Regions from separate parts of the Homo sapiens genome. Here regions 2 and 3 are each linked to region 1. The links are contacts of gene promoters, found by promoter capture Hi-C in human tissues and cell types (Jung and others, 2019). All regions are on one chromosome and are shown on one strand. Each heading gives the region's core, a stretch centred on a gene start or on the middle of the fragment in contact. The rest is flanking DNA. Distances are from core to core; before and after follow the strand shown. Region 1 holds the start of VWA2 (von Willebrand factor A domain containing 2). Region 2 overlaps ABLIM1 (actin binding LIM protein 1). Region 3 has its middle 34 kb from the start of MIR4483.

The links. The method cuts DNA at HindIII sites, captures the fragments that hold promoters and counts their contacts. A contact is called where the count stands out against the background at its distance.
Region 2: a fragment that was not itself captured here is called in contact with the fragment with the promoter of VWA2 in region 1 in 1 of the 25 tissues and cell types used here (bladder).
Region 3: a contact is called between a fragment that was not itself captured here and the fragment with the promoter of VWA2 in region 1, in 1 of the 25 tissues and cell types used here (thymus).

The regions. Positions count from the first base shown.
Region 1 is chr10:114,237,371-114,241,613 of GRCh38, reverse strand. VWA2 (von Willebrand factor A domain containing 2) reads right to left here and starts at 2,360. Exons shown (of 14, transcript NM_001272046.2): 1 at 2,045-2,360. RefSeq lists an enhancer at 1,741-2,449. The HindIII fragment of the contact is 6,749 bases long and covers 1-4,243 here.
Region 2 is chr10:114,517,600-114,521,900 of GRCh38, reverse strand. The region is part of intron 6 of ABLIM1 (actin binding LIM protein 1); the gene reads left to right. Among named protein-coding and RNA genes, the nearest start is that of AFAP1L2, 120 kb to the right of the region's middle. RefSeq lists an enhancer at 2,474-2,993. The HindIII fragment of the contact is 5,622 bases long and covers 1-4,301 here.
Region 3 is chr10:113,809,962-113,814,241 of GRCh38, reverse strand. No RefSeq gene overlaps it. Among named protein-coding and RNA genes, the nearest start is that of MIR4483, 34 kb to the right of the region's middle. The HindIII fragment of the contact is 8,663 bases long and covers 1-4,280 here.

The sequences.
Region 1 (4,243 bases), core at 1,111-3,610:
GGAGTTATTAACAAAAAAGGCATTTTCACCACAAGCTTATGATGCCGTCACTGCCAAATAACTATTCTGTTTTTATGATGCTCATTAAAAAGCCAGGAGGGGAAATGTCAGTGTATATTACCGAGCGAAAGACACCAATCTGAGAAAGCTACGTACTACATGATTCCAATCATAAGACATTCTGGAAAAGGTAAAACTATTGAGACAGTAGAAAGATCAGTGATTACCATGTGTTGTAGGGAGGGTGGGATGCACAGAAGATTTTTACGGTAGTGAAACTATGCTGTTTGATACTATAATGGCAGATTTATGTCATTTTACATTTGTCCAAAGCCATAGAATGTACAACAGGAGCAAACCCCAGGGCAAACTGTGAACTTTGGGTCATAATGATGTGCCAGTGTCGGTTCATCAGTTGGAACAAATGTACCACTGCAGTGGGGGATGCTGACAATGGGGGAGTCTGTGCATAGGCGGGGACAGGAGGTATATGGGAAACCTGTACCTTCTGCTCAATTTTGCTTTGAACCTAACACTCTAAAACTGGGTCTCAGTTTCCTCATCTGTAAAAACATGGGCTTCTGACTATGATTCGGATATCCCAGGGGCTTGTGCCTATTGAAGAGAGGGGAAATACTGGCTGTAATCTCTGTACGGTAGACCAAAAACCAGATTTAATGAAAATACACTGATGGTTTTCAGCCAGAGATGATGAGGAAAGCAATCCTCTTCTCCAACCTGGGATTTGCCTGGGGACCTAGTCTGAGAAATTCTTACACTACTAGGAGATGGCTCTGGGCTGGATTTTACAAAAGAAGAGTAAGGCCTGAGGAGCTCTGAACCCCCATCAGTCACAAGAGAGGATGGCTTCAGCCTGCTGAAAGCCAGCAGCATTTACAAATTCATGCCTGTGGCTTTTGCCAACTCTAGTGGTACCTTTCTGACCTCTTCACTTCTCTGACTCTTCAATAAATCGACATTTCTTAATATAGTGTCACCTTAACAGCAAAAGAGACCTTGAATTTTTGGGACTGAATTTATAAAACACTTAGAGGTTCTGGGGTTTTACTTAAAGCAGCTTGTAATTTGAAAAATGTACACGTTCTAATTATTCCAATCTCCAAGACATCAAACACATGGCATGAGGTCCCCATTGCTAAGTCCCCTTTCAGCTTCAGCTGGAGCCCTTGATTCCACAATCACAAGCAGCAAGGTGCCCTCCTCCCTTCTCTTCTGTCTGGTGCCCCCAGCAAGTTTTCAAGGTTCAATTCTGAGACTCTCCCATTCACCGTCCCAGCAGGTGGCCAAGGGCCCAAGGCGGGAGGGAAAGGTCGGCTTAGCTAGGGAAAGTTTTGTTAGCCTTATTGGAAGGGAAGGAGACATGCAGGAAGCAGGGCTGAGCCAGGTGGGGGAAGTCACCAGAACGACAAACCCCTGGACTTCCCACTGCCCAAGCGCGAGGACTCTCGGGGCAGCCGGCCCCTCTCAGGTTCTGCTTGCAGACACTTCGCTGGGGGCACTCGTTCTGCCTGGGAAAACTGCCCCAAGTCCCCTTAACACCTGTGTATGTCCTGTAGTGGGGTGTGGGGTGGAAGCGAGCATGTCACCAAAGCCTTTATTCAAAGGGCGAGTCCCTTTCCGCGGCCGCCAGGGAAGGGGGCCCCGCTACTGTGCCAGGAGGGCAGCTTGGGTTTAATACATGCCCTCCTCCACCCCTGTACCCGGAGCCCCTACCCACTTACCTGCTGACCGCACCCCTCCCAAAACCCCGCCAGCTCGCCCGGGACGGACCGCGAGTGGCCACGAGGGAGGCGCGCGCCAGGTGCGCTCTTCCCCCGACGCCGCCGTGCCAGGAAGGCCGCGCTCAGGTGCGCGCAGACAATGCGAACAAAGCCCGCACCCTCGGCGGGGCCGCGCAGCCCGGGTGCTCTGGGTAGGGGTGGCTGGGCAGAGGGGGCCCCAGTACCGGGAGCGTGAATCGGTCATCGGCAGCCGGCACTGGCGGGTACCCGGGCGCCAGAGCCAACTCGGGGCTGGGACTCACCGGAAGGAGAGCGGCGACCAGCGCTCGGTGCCCGGGCGGCTCTACTCACAGACCCGGGCGCGGCTCGGGCCAGGGGGCGCTACGGGATCACAGGAGGGGCGCCCGGGGCGCGGCTGCCACGTGGGACACCTGTTTGTCTCTCCTGGGAGAGGGCGGCACGACCCGACCCGGCTGAGGTCGGAGGAACTACCGCCAGGGAGGTGCATAGAGCCCCTCGCGTTTTTTAAAGCGGCATCGGCCCAGGTCTGCAAATAAAAAAGTACTTCACTTCTACGCGGGTCACCCAGCCTCCGAGCGGTGCAGCCGCGAACACTGTGCCGTCAGCTGACTCCTCCACGGGCTTTATAGCTCCTTGAAAAAATGTTGACTTTGGCATCTTTTCTATTTGTCATGGCAATTGCCTTTTAATTACCTGTCCCTCCTATTGTTGCAGTTGGGTAATAAGCCGACCTTTTGGCCATCATCCTTGCTTAAGATTGGAGGGCGTTTGATTTTTAAAAAATCAAATGCCACAAAGCACAATGCTGAGCATGATGCTTTATATAAAGTAAGCTCTCAATGAACGTTGACTATGACTGCACAATCCATAATTTCCATACTTCATTTAAAAACTGCCAGAGCATGCCTGTTCATTGCAAAAAAAAAAAAAAGAAAAGAAATAACAGTAAAAAAGTTGATAAATCAATCATTTTCCAACACCCAGAGATAATCAGTTAACATTGTGGTGTATGTTCTTCCAATGTCATTCTACCTATGCAAAAATTTATATATTTTTAGTTCATTCCATACAAGCTGTACATTACTCAGGTTTTCCATTTCCTTTTTTTGAATGTCCGTTTTAAGCCACTTCATAATGTCCTAATGTACTTAACCTATCTGCTATTGTTGAATATTAAACTTTCCATTTTAATAATACAATTAGATGTCTTTGTGCTTTTGTCCAATTAATTCCTTAGAATAAACTACGAAAAGGTAAATTTCTAGGATACAGGTTTTATACAACTTAAGACTTTTGATGCCTATTATCTAATTGTCCTCAAGGAAGGTTGACCTGCTTCCTCTTTTCCATGCTCCTTCCCATTATTCTTGTAAATGTCAATCTGATAGGAAAATAATTTGCTTTACACCTTTCCTGTCTGTAGTTCTCAGTTAATTTCCAAACCTCCGACACTGACAGCTTCCAGTGAAAGTGGCCCGTGGTGACTTTAATGTTGCAAACCTCATTGAAGGAGGCTAGGAAAGGACTCATTTTTCCTGTAATTCATTTCTCCCAGTAACATTTACTGAGCACCCAAAAATAAAAACAGGGCCACACCAGAGCAGCAGACATAATGTACCACCACATCATCCCCACAGGGGACAGCAGTTAGTCTTGAGGTCTAACTGCTGGGGAGGGATGGTCTCTGCCTCTAGATCAGCATTGCCCCAGAGAAATACTGACCAAGCCACGTGTGTAATTTTAAATGTTCTAGTGGTCACATTTAATAAAAAGTGAAAAGAAACAGCAAGCTGGATTTCAGTATTAACCTAAACATCCGGAACATTATCTCAACATGTAATCAATAAAGATGTTTTATGCTGTCTTCAAAGTCCTGTTTTTTTGTTTTTTTTTTTTTTTTTTTTGTTTGAGACAGAGTCTCACTCTGTTGCCCAGGCTGGAGTGCAATGGCATGATCTTGGCTCACTGCAACCTCTGCCTCCCAGGTTCAAATGGTTCTCCTGCCTCAGCCTCCCGAGTAGCTGGGATCACAGGTGCACACCACCATGCCCGGCTAATTTTTGTATTTTTAGTAAAGACAGGGTTTTGCCATGTTGGCCAGGCTGGTCTCAAACTCCTGACCTCAGGTAATCCACCCGCCTCAGCCTCCCAAAATGCTGGGATCATAGGCGTGAGCCACCACGCCTGGCCAATCCTGTTGTATTCTATACTCACAAGCACATCTCAATTTGGACTCGCCACATTTTTAAGTGCTGTATAGTCAAATGGGGTGAGTGGCCTGTGCTGCTCCAGAGATGTCCAACAAGGGCAGACCCCAGGTCCTCAAGAAAGTGGAAATTCTACCTTTGACAACCCTCTCCCTGTACCCCTTATGCTGTTTAACAGGTACCAGCATACTTTGACCTTATCAGGCTTACCTTGGAGAAGCCAAATTTCAATCCTGGTTGTTCCTGAAGTATTTGGCATGTCTTTAATTGGGG
Region 2 (4,301 bases), core at 1,161-3,660, 280 kb before region 1:
CTGTTTTAGGTTCTTCATGGCACTGTTCCCCGACTATCTGGAATTCTTATCTGCTTGTATCCATGTCTAGTATCTGTCACTCATTGCAAGAATGTATGCTTATGACAGGTACTATCATATCCCCGAAACTAAAACATCATCTGATAGAAGGTTGGTGCCCAATAAGAGGATGAGTGGATGGATAGAAGGATGGATGAATGGGAGGGAAAAGGAGAGGGAAGGAAGGAAAGAAGGAGCGGGGAAAGGAGGGGGGTTGACTACCGAGTAAATTTCTACTCTCTTTTAAGTCTAAGAGCTTCTCTCCTGTGATTCCTCTTTGACTCCCCAAGACAGTAGCCTTGGAGAATTTTCTCCCCACACCCACCTCACTTTGTACATTACACTAACCATCTTATCCAGTTACAGTCACCTGTTTGCTAAGCTCTGCATACTAAGCTCTTGAGGACAGGAATGTGTAATAAAGGTGGTTATGGTTGTAATTATTGTTTGTTCTTATTGCCTTAGCACTTTATAAGCATACTTCATCAAAGTCCTTTCATCAACTCTATGGCTTGAGTATGACTCTCATCTTTGTTTTGCAAGTAAGTAAACTGAGGCCCAGAGCAGTTGCCGAAAGGCGTACAGATGATTACTGCAGGGCCAGGAATTGAATACAGATTTCTTCTTGGTAGCGCAGATTATACAGCCTTTCTTTCCTCCTCATCAGGTGTCCAGTGCCTGACCCACAGGTTCATCACAGGCTTTTGCCAAATGAATGAAACCTAAGACCTCACCTCCTCCCTTCTCATCCCTATTATTTGAGCTTATACATATTATTTATACTATTTATAAACATAAACATGAGCCTATCAGTTCATAATCCAGTGACATCTCTAAGGATAACTAGCTGCTGTATCTTAAGTCACTTATTTTTATTGTTTTTTTAGAAACAGGGTCTCACTCTGTTGTCCAGACTGGAGCACAGTGGCACAGTCATAACTTACTGCAGCCTCAAACTCCTGGGCTCCAGAGATTCCCTGCCTCAGTCTCCTGAGTCCCGGGACTACAGGTGCATGCCATCATGCCCAGCTAATTTTTTTTTATTATTATTTTTTAGAGACAGGGTCTCACTATGTTGCCCAGGCTGCTCTCTTAACTCCTGGCCTCAAGTGGTCCTCCTGCCTTGGCCTCCTGAAGTGCTGGGATTACAGGCATGAAGCACCACACCCAGCCTACGTCATTTTTCTTTCTTTCTTTTTTTTCTTTTTTTAACCGATAGGACGTCATTGATTGCTTAAACCCTCTCATTCTTCTTATGTAAACAAATCTATTAGTCAAAAGTTAAGCAGCTGCTGAGTCACATGGCACTTTAATCCAGGGTTACAATTGGCAGCCCTGGGAATGAGTTCTCCTTTTTTTAGCTCCCACGATGGCACTGATTTCCCCTAGAATATGAAACTTACACCAAGGAAACCACCATGACAACTGTAGGTAGCAATTTCAAGCAGAAAAGACTAGGAAAATGCCTAAGAATTTTAAACCTGACAGAGTTCTTCTACATTTTTAATATAACCAAGTGCTGTTCATCACCTGCCTTGACACCGGTGTTTGTGAGGTTGATTGGCCCCAGGATGTTCCACTGCAGAACAGAAGGCCAAGATCAGAAGCCCTTGTCGACATATAAATGTAATGCTGTAAGCTGGCTTGGAGCTGTGACTCCATGGAGCCAATTCTAAAATGATTAAGACTTCTGTCTATAGAGAGTTGAGGTGGAGACTGTTTACTATGGCCCTGCCCAGAGGCTTCAGCAGCTGAGGGTGTACCCTCTGCAGTGGGAGTCTTCAGGCATGAGCCTGAAGCCTGTGCTGGCCTCTAGGGATGGAGTCCCTTGTTGTCTTACAGCTTGAATTTTCCAGCACAGGACAACTCCAGATGACAGCTCCAACAGGGCAGAGGCTGCAGCCTTGCCAGACTGGTCCGTCAAAGCTTTCCTTGGCACATAATCCAGTTTCACCCAGGTTTGGGGGTAACCCAGCTGGTTCCTTTTTTCCTGGGTTGGTGGTGAGCTAAGCAGGGAGGTAGTACCCACAGGTTATTTATGGATGTCAAAAACTCAAAAGGCCCTCAGCACTGGGGGTAGGACCAGTGAGAAGTGCTCAACCATGGCATGTATGAGGGATCTGTGGGCGAACCCTGATGTGTCATTTGGCTCCTCTATCCATCACAAAGAGCAGGGACCCCTGAACCCTTTAACCATCCCTGAGCAAGATTGGAGGGATTTTTGCCCTTTTAATACAACTTCTTAAATGGCCTGATGGCCTTGGATGTACTCATTAATAAATATGTCTTGTGGTTTGCAATTTAACTGTCTGTGTGATGAGGATATTGGAAAGGAGTTTCTGACTGATTCATTGTTCACACTTGCCTCTCCCAGCCGAGGGATAATTGGGGCCTTGCCTAATCTGCACTCGCTCACACCCAACATGTGCTGGGCGGGGAAAAAAGGCTGCAACCTGGCCGGCTGGTTCCCGGACCTGGCCTTGCACCAACCAGGAAGATCTCTTCTCTACCTCCTTTTCTGTGTTCAAGGTGATACCTGCTTAGGACTCCCAGAAATATCATTAGCAGGAAAGTTCCACAGATTTAATCTAGTCTAAACCTCTGAGAGTTGAGGACACTGAGACCCAGAAAACCTGAGTGATTTTCCTAGGAACACACAGCCCATTGGTTAGTAAGGCAAAAGTAGACCTCAGAGCAGCTCAGTGCTTCTCTATCCCCTCTGCACCTCCCCCAGGCTGCCTCTTGAACTACTTCTCTGCTTGCTGTACAAACCAAAGCTATCTTTCAAAGTCTTTTGGAATATTAAAGCCATTACAGGGAGGCAGGGTGTGTGGGGATTGAGTAGATATTCAAAAGATTTTTGCTCAAACCTTTATTTCACTTTGTTTTTAAACAACTTCCCTTTCCCATGCCTATGGAGCTTTTCTTGTCTCATCCTAAAAACTCCCAAGTTCCCACCTGCTTCTAGGAAGATTGTTGATGATTGTCCAGGCATCCCCTGCCACTGTCTGAGCAGACAACTTCTAAAAGTTTTTTTTTTTAAGTAGTGTGAGCTCATCGTAAATAAATAAATGAATAACTGAGTAAGTACACTTGTTTGTACTTCTCTGAATCACATGTAATGGGCCAGATAGTACATATTTTCAGCCTTGTGGACTATGCTGTCTCTGTCTCAGCTACGTATGGGCTAAAGCAGACCTAGAGACTATGTAAATGAACAGACATGGTTCTGTTCCAATAAAGCTTTATTTACAAAAAACAGGTAGTGGGCCAGGTTTCACCTATGGGCTGCCAATCTTGGTATCAGGTAAAAAGTAAACATTCTCCACTTACTCCCTAAGCTTTATTGGCACAGGACCACGTCTGTTCATTTACATAGTCTCTAGGTCTGCTTTAGCCCATACCAGCCTTGAGTAGCTGAGACAGAGACAGCGTAGTCCACAAAGCTGAAAATATGTACTATCTGGCCCATTGCATGTGGTTCAGAGAAGTACAAAGAAGTGTACTTATTCAGTTATTTATTTACAATAAGCTCACATTACTTTAAAAAAACCCACTCCCAGAGGTAGCTATTGTTGAGAGTTGGGTCTATAGTGTCACTGGCATGCAGATACTTACAAATACGGGGTTGGATCATGTAAATTTTTTCATATAGGATGTAGAGTTCTGTATCTTGCTTTGCTCCTGTTTCTTGCACATAGATACCTGTGGGAGGGCATGTATTCTTTTATACAAATAGGACCGTTTTATGCATGTTGTTCTACAATTTCCTTCACTTGGCAGTAACTCAGTGTTGATGCTTATAGGATGATGACATTCTTTTTAATGACCACATAGTGGTAAAATCCTTTACCATACACTAAGAAAACATGACAAATACCAAAAAAAAAAAGTATGTGTGTAAATAACTACCAGCAGACACAGATGATGTCTTGTTCGTCTCACATGGTCCCATGTGTCTGGTGGGCACATCCACGGGGATCCATGTCAGCCCGTGCAGCGTTACTATGTTTCCAAAGGGGGTTTTGTTTCAGCCTAACTTTCTGCCAGCACAGCACCACATACAGGTGACGAGCTAATAAAAGATTTGCATGATGAGGAAGGTTTCAGACAAACTTTAGCTTCAACATTGTGGTTGATTATGAGGCAATTTCTGTGAAATCCTAAAAATCCCAAGTTTTTTGTCCTGCTGTGAACACAGTTTATCGCAAAAAAGTACAGACCCACATTGTACTGTGGCCCCCCTCCCCGCCCTTTAAAGT
Region 3 (4,280 bases), core at 1,653-4,152, 430 kb after region 1:
AGTAGATCCCATTTATCAATTCTGGCTTTTGTTGCAATTGCTTTTGGCATTTTTGTCATGAAGTCTTTGCCCATGCCTATGTCCAGAATGGTATTGCCTAGGTTTTCTTCTAGGGGTTTTATGGGTTTGGGTTTTACATTTAAATCTTTAATCCATCTTGAGTTAGTCTTTGTATGAGGTATAAGGAAGGGGTCCAGTGTCAGTTTTCTGCATATGGCTAGCTTGTTTTCCCAGCACCATTTACTGAATATAAGATCCTTTCCCCATTGCTTGTTTTTGTCAGGTTTGTCGAAGATCAGATGGTTGTAGATGTGTGGTGTTATTTCTGAGGTCTCTGTTCTGCTCCATTGGTCTATATGTCTATTTTGTTATCAGTACCTTGCTATTTTGGTTACTGTAGCCTTGTAGTATAGTTTGAAGTCAGGTAGCGTGATGCTTCCAGCTTTATTCTTTTTGCTTAGGATTGTCTTGGCTATATGTGCTCTTCTTTGATTCCAAATGAAATGTAAAGTAGTTTTTACTAATTCTGTGAAGAATGTCAATAGTAGTTTGATGGGAACAGCATTGAATCTATAAATTACTTTCGGACAGCACGGCCATTTTCACAATATTGATTTTTCCTATTCCATAAGGATGGAATGTTTTTCCATTTGTGTCCTCTCTTATTTCCTTGAGCAGTAGTTTGTAGTTCTCCTTGAAGAGGTCCTTCAAATCCCTTGTTAGCTGTATTCCTAGGTATTTTATTCTCTTTGTAGATTTGTGAATGGGAGTTCATTCATGATTTGACTTTCTGTTTGTCTATTATTGGTGTATAGGAATGCTTGTGATTTTTGCACATTGATTTTGTATCCTGAGACTTTGCTGAAGTTGCTTATAAGTTCCAAGAAGTTTTGGCGCTGAGACGATGGAGTTTTCTAAATATAAAATCATGTCGTCTGCAAACAGAGACAACTTGACTTCCTCTCTTCCTATTCAATTACCTTTATTTCTTTCTCTTGCCTGATTGCCTTGGCCAGAACTTCCAATACTATGTTGAATAGGAGTGGTGAGAGAGGTCATCCTTGTCTTTACCATTTTTCAAAGGGAATGCTTCCATCTTTTGCCCATTCAATATGATATTTGTTGTGGGTTTGTCATAAACAACTTATGATTTTGAGATATGTTCCATCAATACCTAGTTCATTGGGAGTTTTTAACATGAAGGGATGTTGAATTTTTTCAAAGGCTTTTTCTGCATCTATTGAGATAATCATATAGTTTTTGTCTTTGGTTCTGTTCATGTGATGGATTACATTTATTGATTTGTGTATGTTGAACCAGACTTGCATCCAAGGGATGAAGCCAACTTGATTGTGGTGGATAAGTTTTTTGATGTGCTGCCGGATTCAGTTTGCCAGTATTTTATTGAGGATTTTCGCTTTGATGTTCATCAGGGATATTGGCCTGAAGTTTTCTTTCTTTGCTGTGTCTCTTCCCGGTTTTGGTATCAGGATGATGCTGGCTTCATAAAATGAGTTAGGGAGGAGGCTCTCCTTTCTCATTGTTTGAAATAGTTTCAGAGGGAATGGTACCAGCTCCACTTTGTATTTCTGGTAGAATTCAGCTGTGAATCTGTCTGGCCCTGGACTTTTTTGGTTGATAGGCTATTAATTACTGCCTCAATTTCAGAGCTTCTTATTGCTCTATTCAGAGATTTGACTTCTTCCTGGTTTAGTCTTGTTAGGGTGTATATATACAGGAATTTATCCATTTCTTCTAGATTTTCTAGTTTATTTGCATTATAGTATTCTCTGGTGGTAGTTTGTATTTCTGTGGGGTCAGTAGTGATATCCCCTTTATCACTTTTTATTGTGTCTATCTGATTCTTCTCTCTCTTCTTTATTAGTCTACTGGTGGTCTATCTATTTTGTTAATTTTTTCAAAAGACAGCTCCTAGATTCATTTGATTTTTTGGAGGGATTTTCATGTCTCTATCTCCTTCAATTCTTCTCTGATCTTAGTTATTTCTTGTCTTCTGCTAGCTTTTGGATTAGTTTGCTCTTGCCTTTCTAGGTCTTTTAATTGTGATGTTGGGTGTCCATTTAAGATATTTCTAGCTTTCTGATGTGGGTATTTAGTGCTATAAATTTCCCTCTTAACACTGCTTTAACTGTGTCCCATAGATTCTTGTACGTTGTCTCTTTGTTCTCATTGGTTTCAAATAACTTCTTGATTTCTGCCTTAATTTCATTATTTACCCAGGATTCATTCAGGAGCAGGTTGTTCAATTTCCATGAAATTGTGTGGTTTTGAGTGAGTTTCTTAATCTTGAGTTCTAATTTGATTGTACTGTGGTCTGAGAGACTGTTTGTTATGATTTCAGTTCTTTTGCATTTGCTGAGGAGTGTTTTACTTGCAATTATGTGGTTGGTTTTAGAATAAGTGCTATGTGGCACTTAGAAGAATGTATATTCTGTTGATTGGGGGTAGAGAGTTCTGTAGATGTCTACTAGGTCCACTTGATCCAGAGCCGAGTTAAAGTCCTGAATATCCGGTGGTGTGGGTTCACAAGTGGGCTCTTCTGATCTGTGGGTTGCACAGTTCCGTGAGAAAAGCACAGTTTTCCCTGCTGGGCAGCACGCTCACTCACTGCCTCCCTTGGCTGGGGGGAGGGGGTTCCCCTTCCCTGTGTGGCTCTCAGGTGGGCTGCCACACCACACTGCTCTTCCTTCCCTCTGTGGGTCACACCAGCTTCTAGTCAATTTTGATGAGAGAACCTGGATACCTTGGTTGTCAGTGAAGGATTCACACGCTTATTATGTTTTTTCCCAATGGGAGCCTGCAAATGCTGCTGCTTCTAGTCAGCCATCTTGGCCCTGTCCCCGGGCCATAGATATGATCACACAACTTCTAATTATTTAGTATTCTTTGAAAAGAGATATTGCTTAATCAGCCAGTATAGTAATGAAAGCTGTTGACTTAGTGTTCAGAGACTATAATTTAGGTAGGCCTGGTTCTGCCACTAACTTTGTGACACTGGGCAACTTAGTCCACTATCCTGCATCTCAGTTTCCTCCACTAGAATGAGAAGTAATTGATCTTAGGTCCTGCCTGGAAGATTCTATGAGTCTGTTAGCTTCATTGCTATTTTTTTTTTTCAAAGTATTGCATGGTTTGCCAGGGCTTGGACATGATCATATTTTTCAAGCTAATTATCACAATGGATGTATGCTATAATATTAAGATATGTCAGGTGAGAAAATGTTTTGAGCTAATATGTTTATTTTACTTATTAATATGTATTTATCTAATGCTTTTTGATATAATATATAAACAGCAGAACTGGCTGGGTGTAGTGGCTATGAGTTCAAGACCAGCCTGACCAACATGGTGAAACCCTGTCTCTACTAAAAATACACAAATTAGCTGGGCGTGGTGGTGCACACCTGTAGTCCCAGCTACTCAGGAGGCTGAGGCAGGAGGATCACTTGAACCGGGAGGCGGAGGTTGCAGTGAGCTGAAATCATGCCTTTGCACTCCAGCCTGGGCAACAGAGTAAGACTCTGTCTCAAAAATAAAAAGATAAAAAATAAAACAGCAGAACTTCCCCCAGCTTGGGTTTGGGGCCTGGAGGTACAACAGTGGAAGAATCAATCCCTCATGGTGGTGTAAAGTGTAAAATGGTTGTATTAACCATAAAATGAGGCAGTGAGCTGACAGCAACAGAGCAGCCCAGTAGTAAGTGAGTGAAAGAGTTTAGAGAGCACGGCACACTAACTCTTCAGCACTCCCAGGGTGAGCACACAGGCACTGAGCACATCCATCAATACAGATTATTCATTCTGACTAGCAATGTGTTGATACAAATACTTGGTGAAACCTATGTATCTTACATCAGTTGCCAAACAATGGCTTACAGTTCAGAACTGCAGTTTCCAGATTCAAGTTAGTGGTGTAACACATGAACAGCCTTTTAGCAGCCTATGGAATGTCTTTGGTGATTCCTGTTGGACAATAAACACACCGCAGTATCTGCTCCTCCCCTGCACGTAGAATAAATTGATGGCCCAAGAGACATGAACAGAAAGGATACATTTGAAGGTTTCATGTGGCTTTAGGGAGAATCGGAAGTTGAAACCTATAGAAGCTGAGTGACCCTGAGTAAGAACTGCTCATCTCCTACTCACAGGAGAGCGCTCTTTCATGCCATTCCCTGCCATGTACTCCAGATACCTTCTTTAGTCGTAGGAGAGCCAGGTTCCCAGATGGAAAATGGGTTAATTCCCTATCTGGCAAGTCCA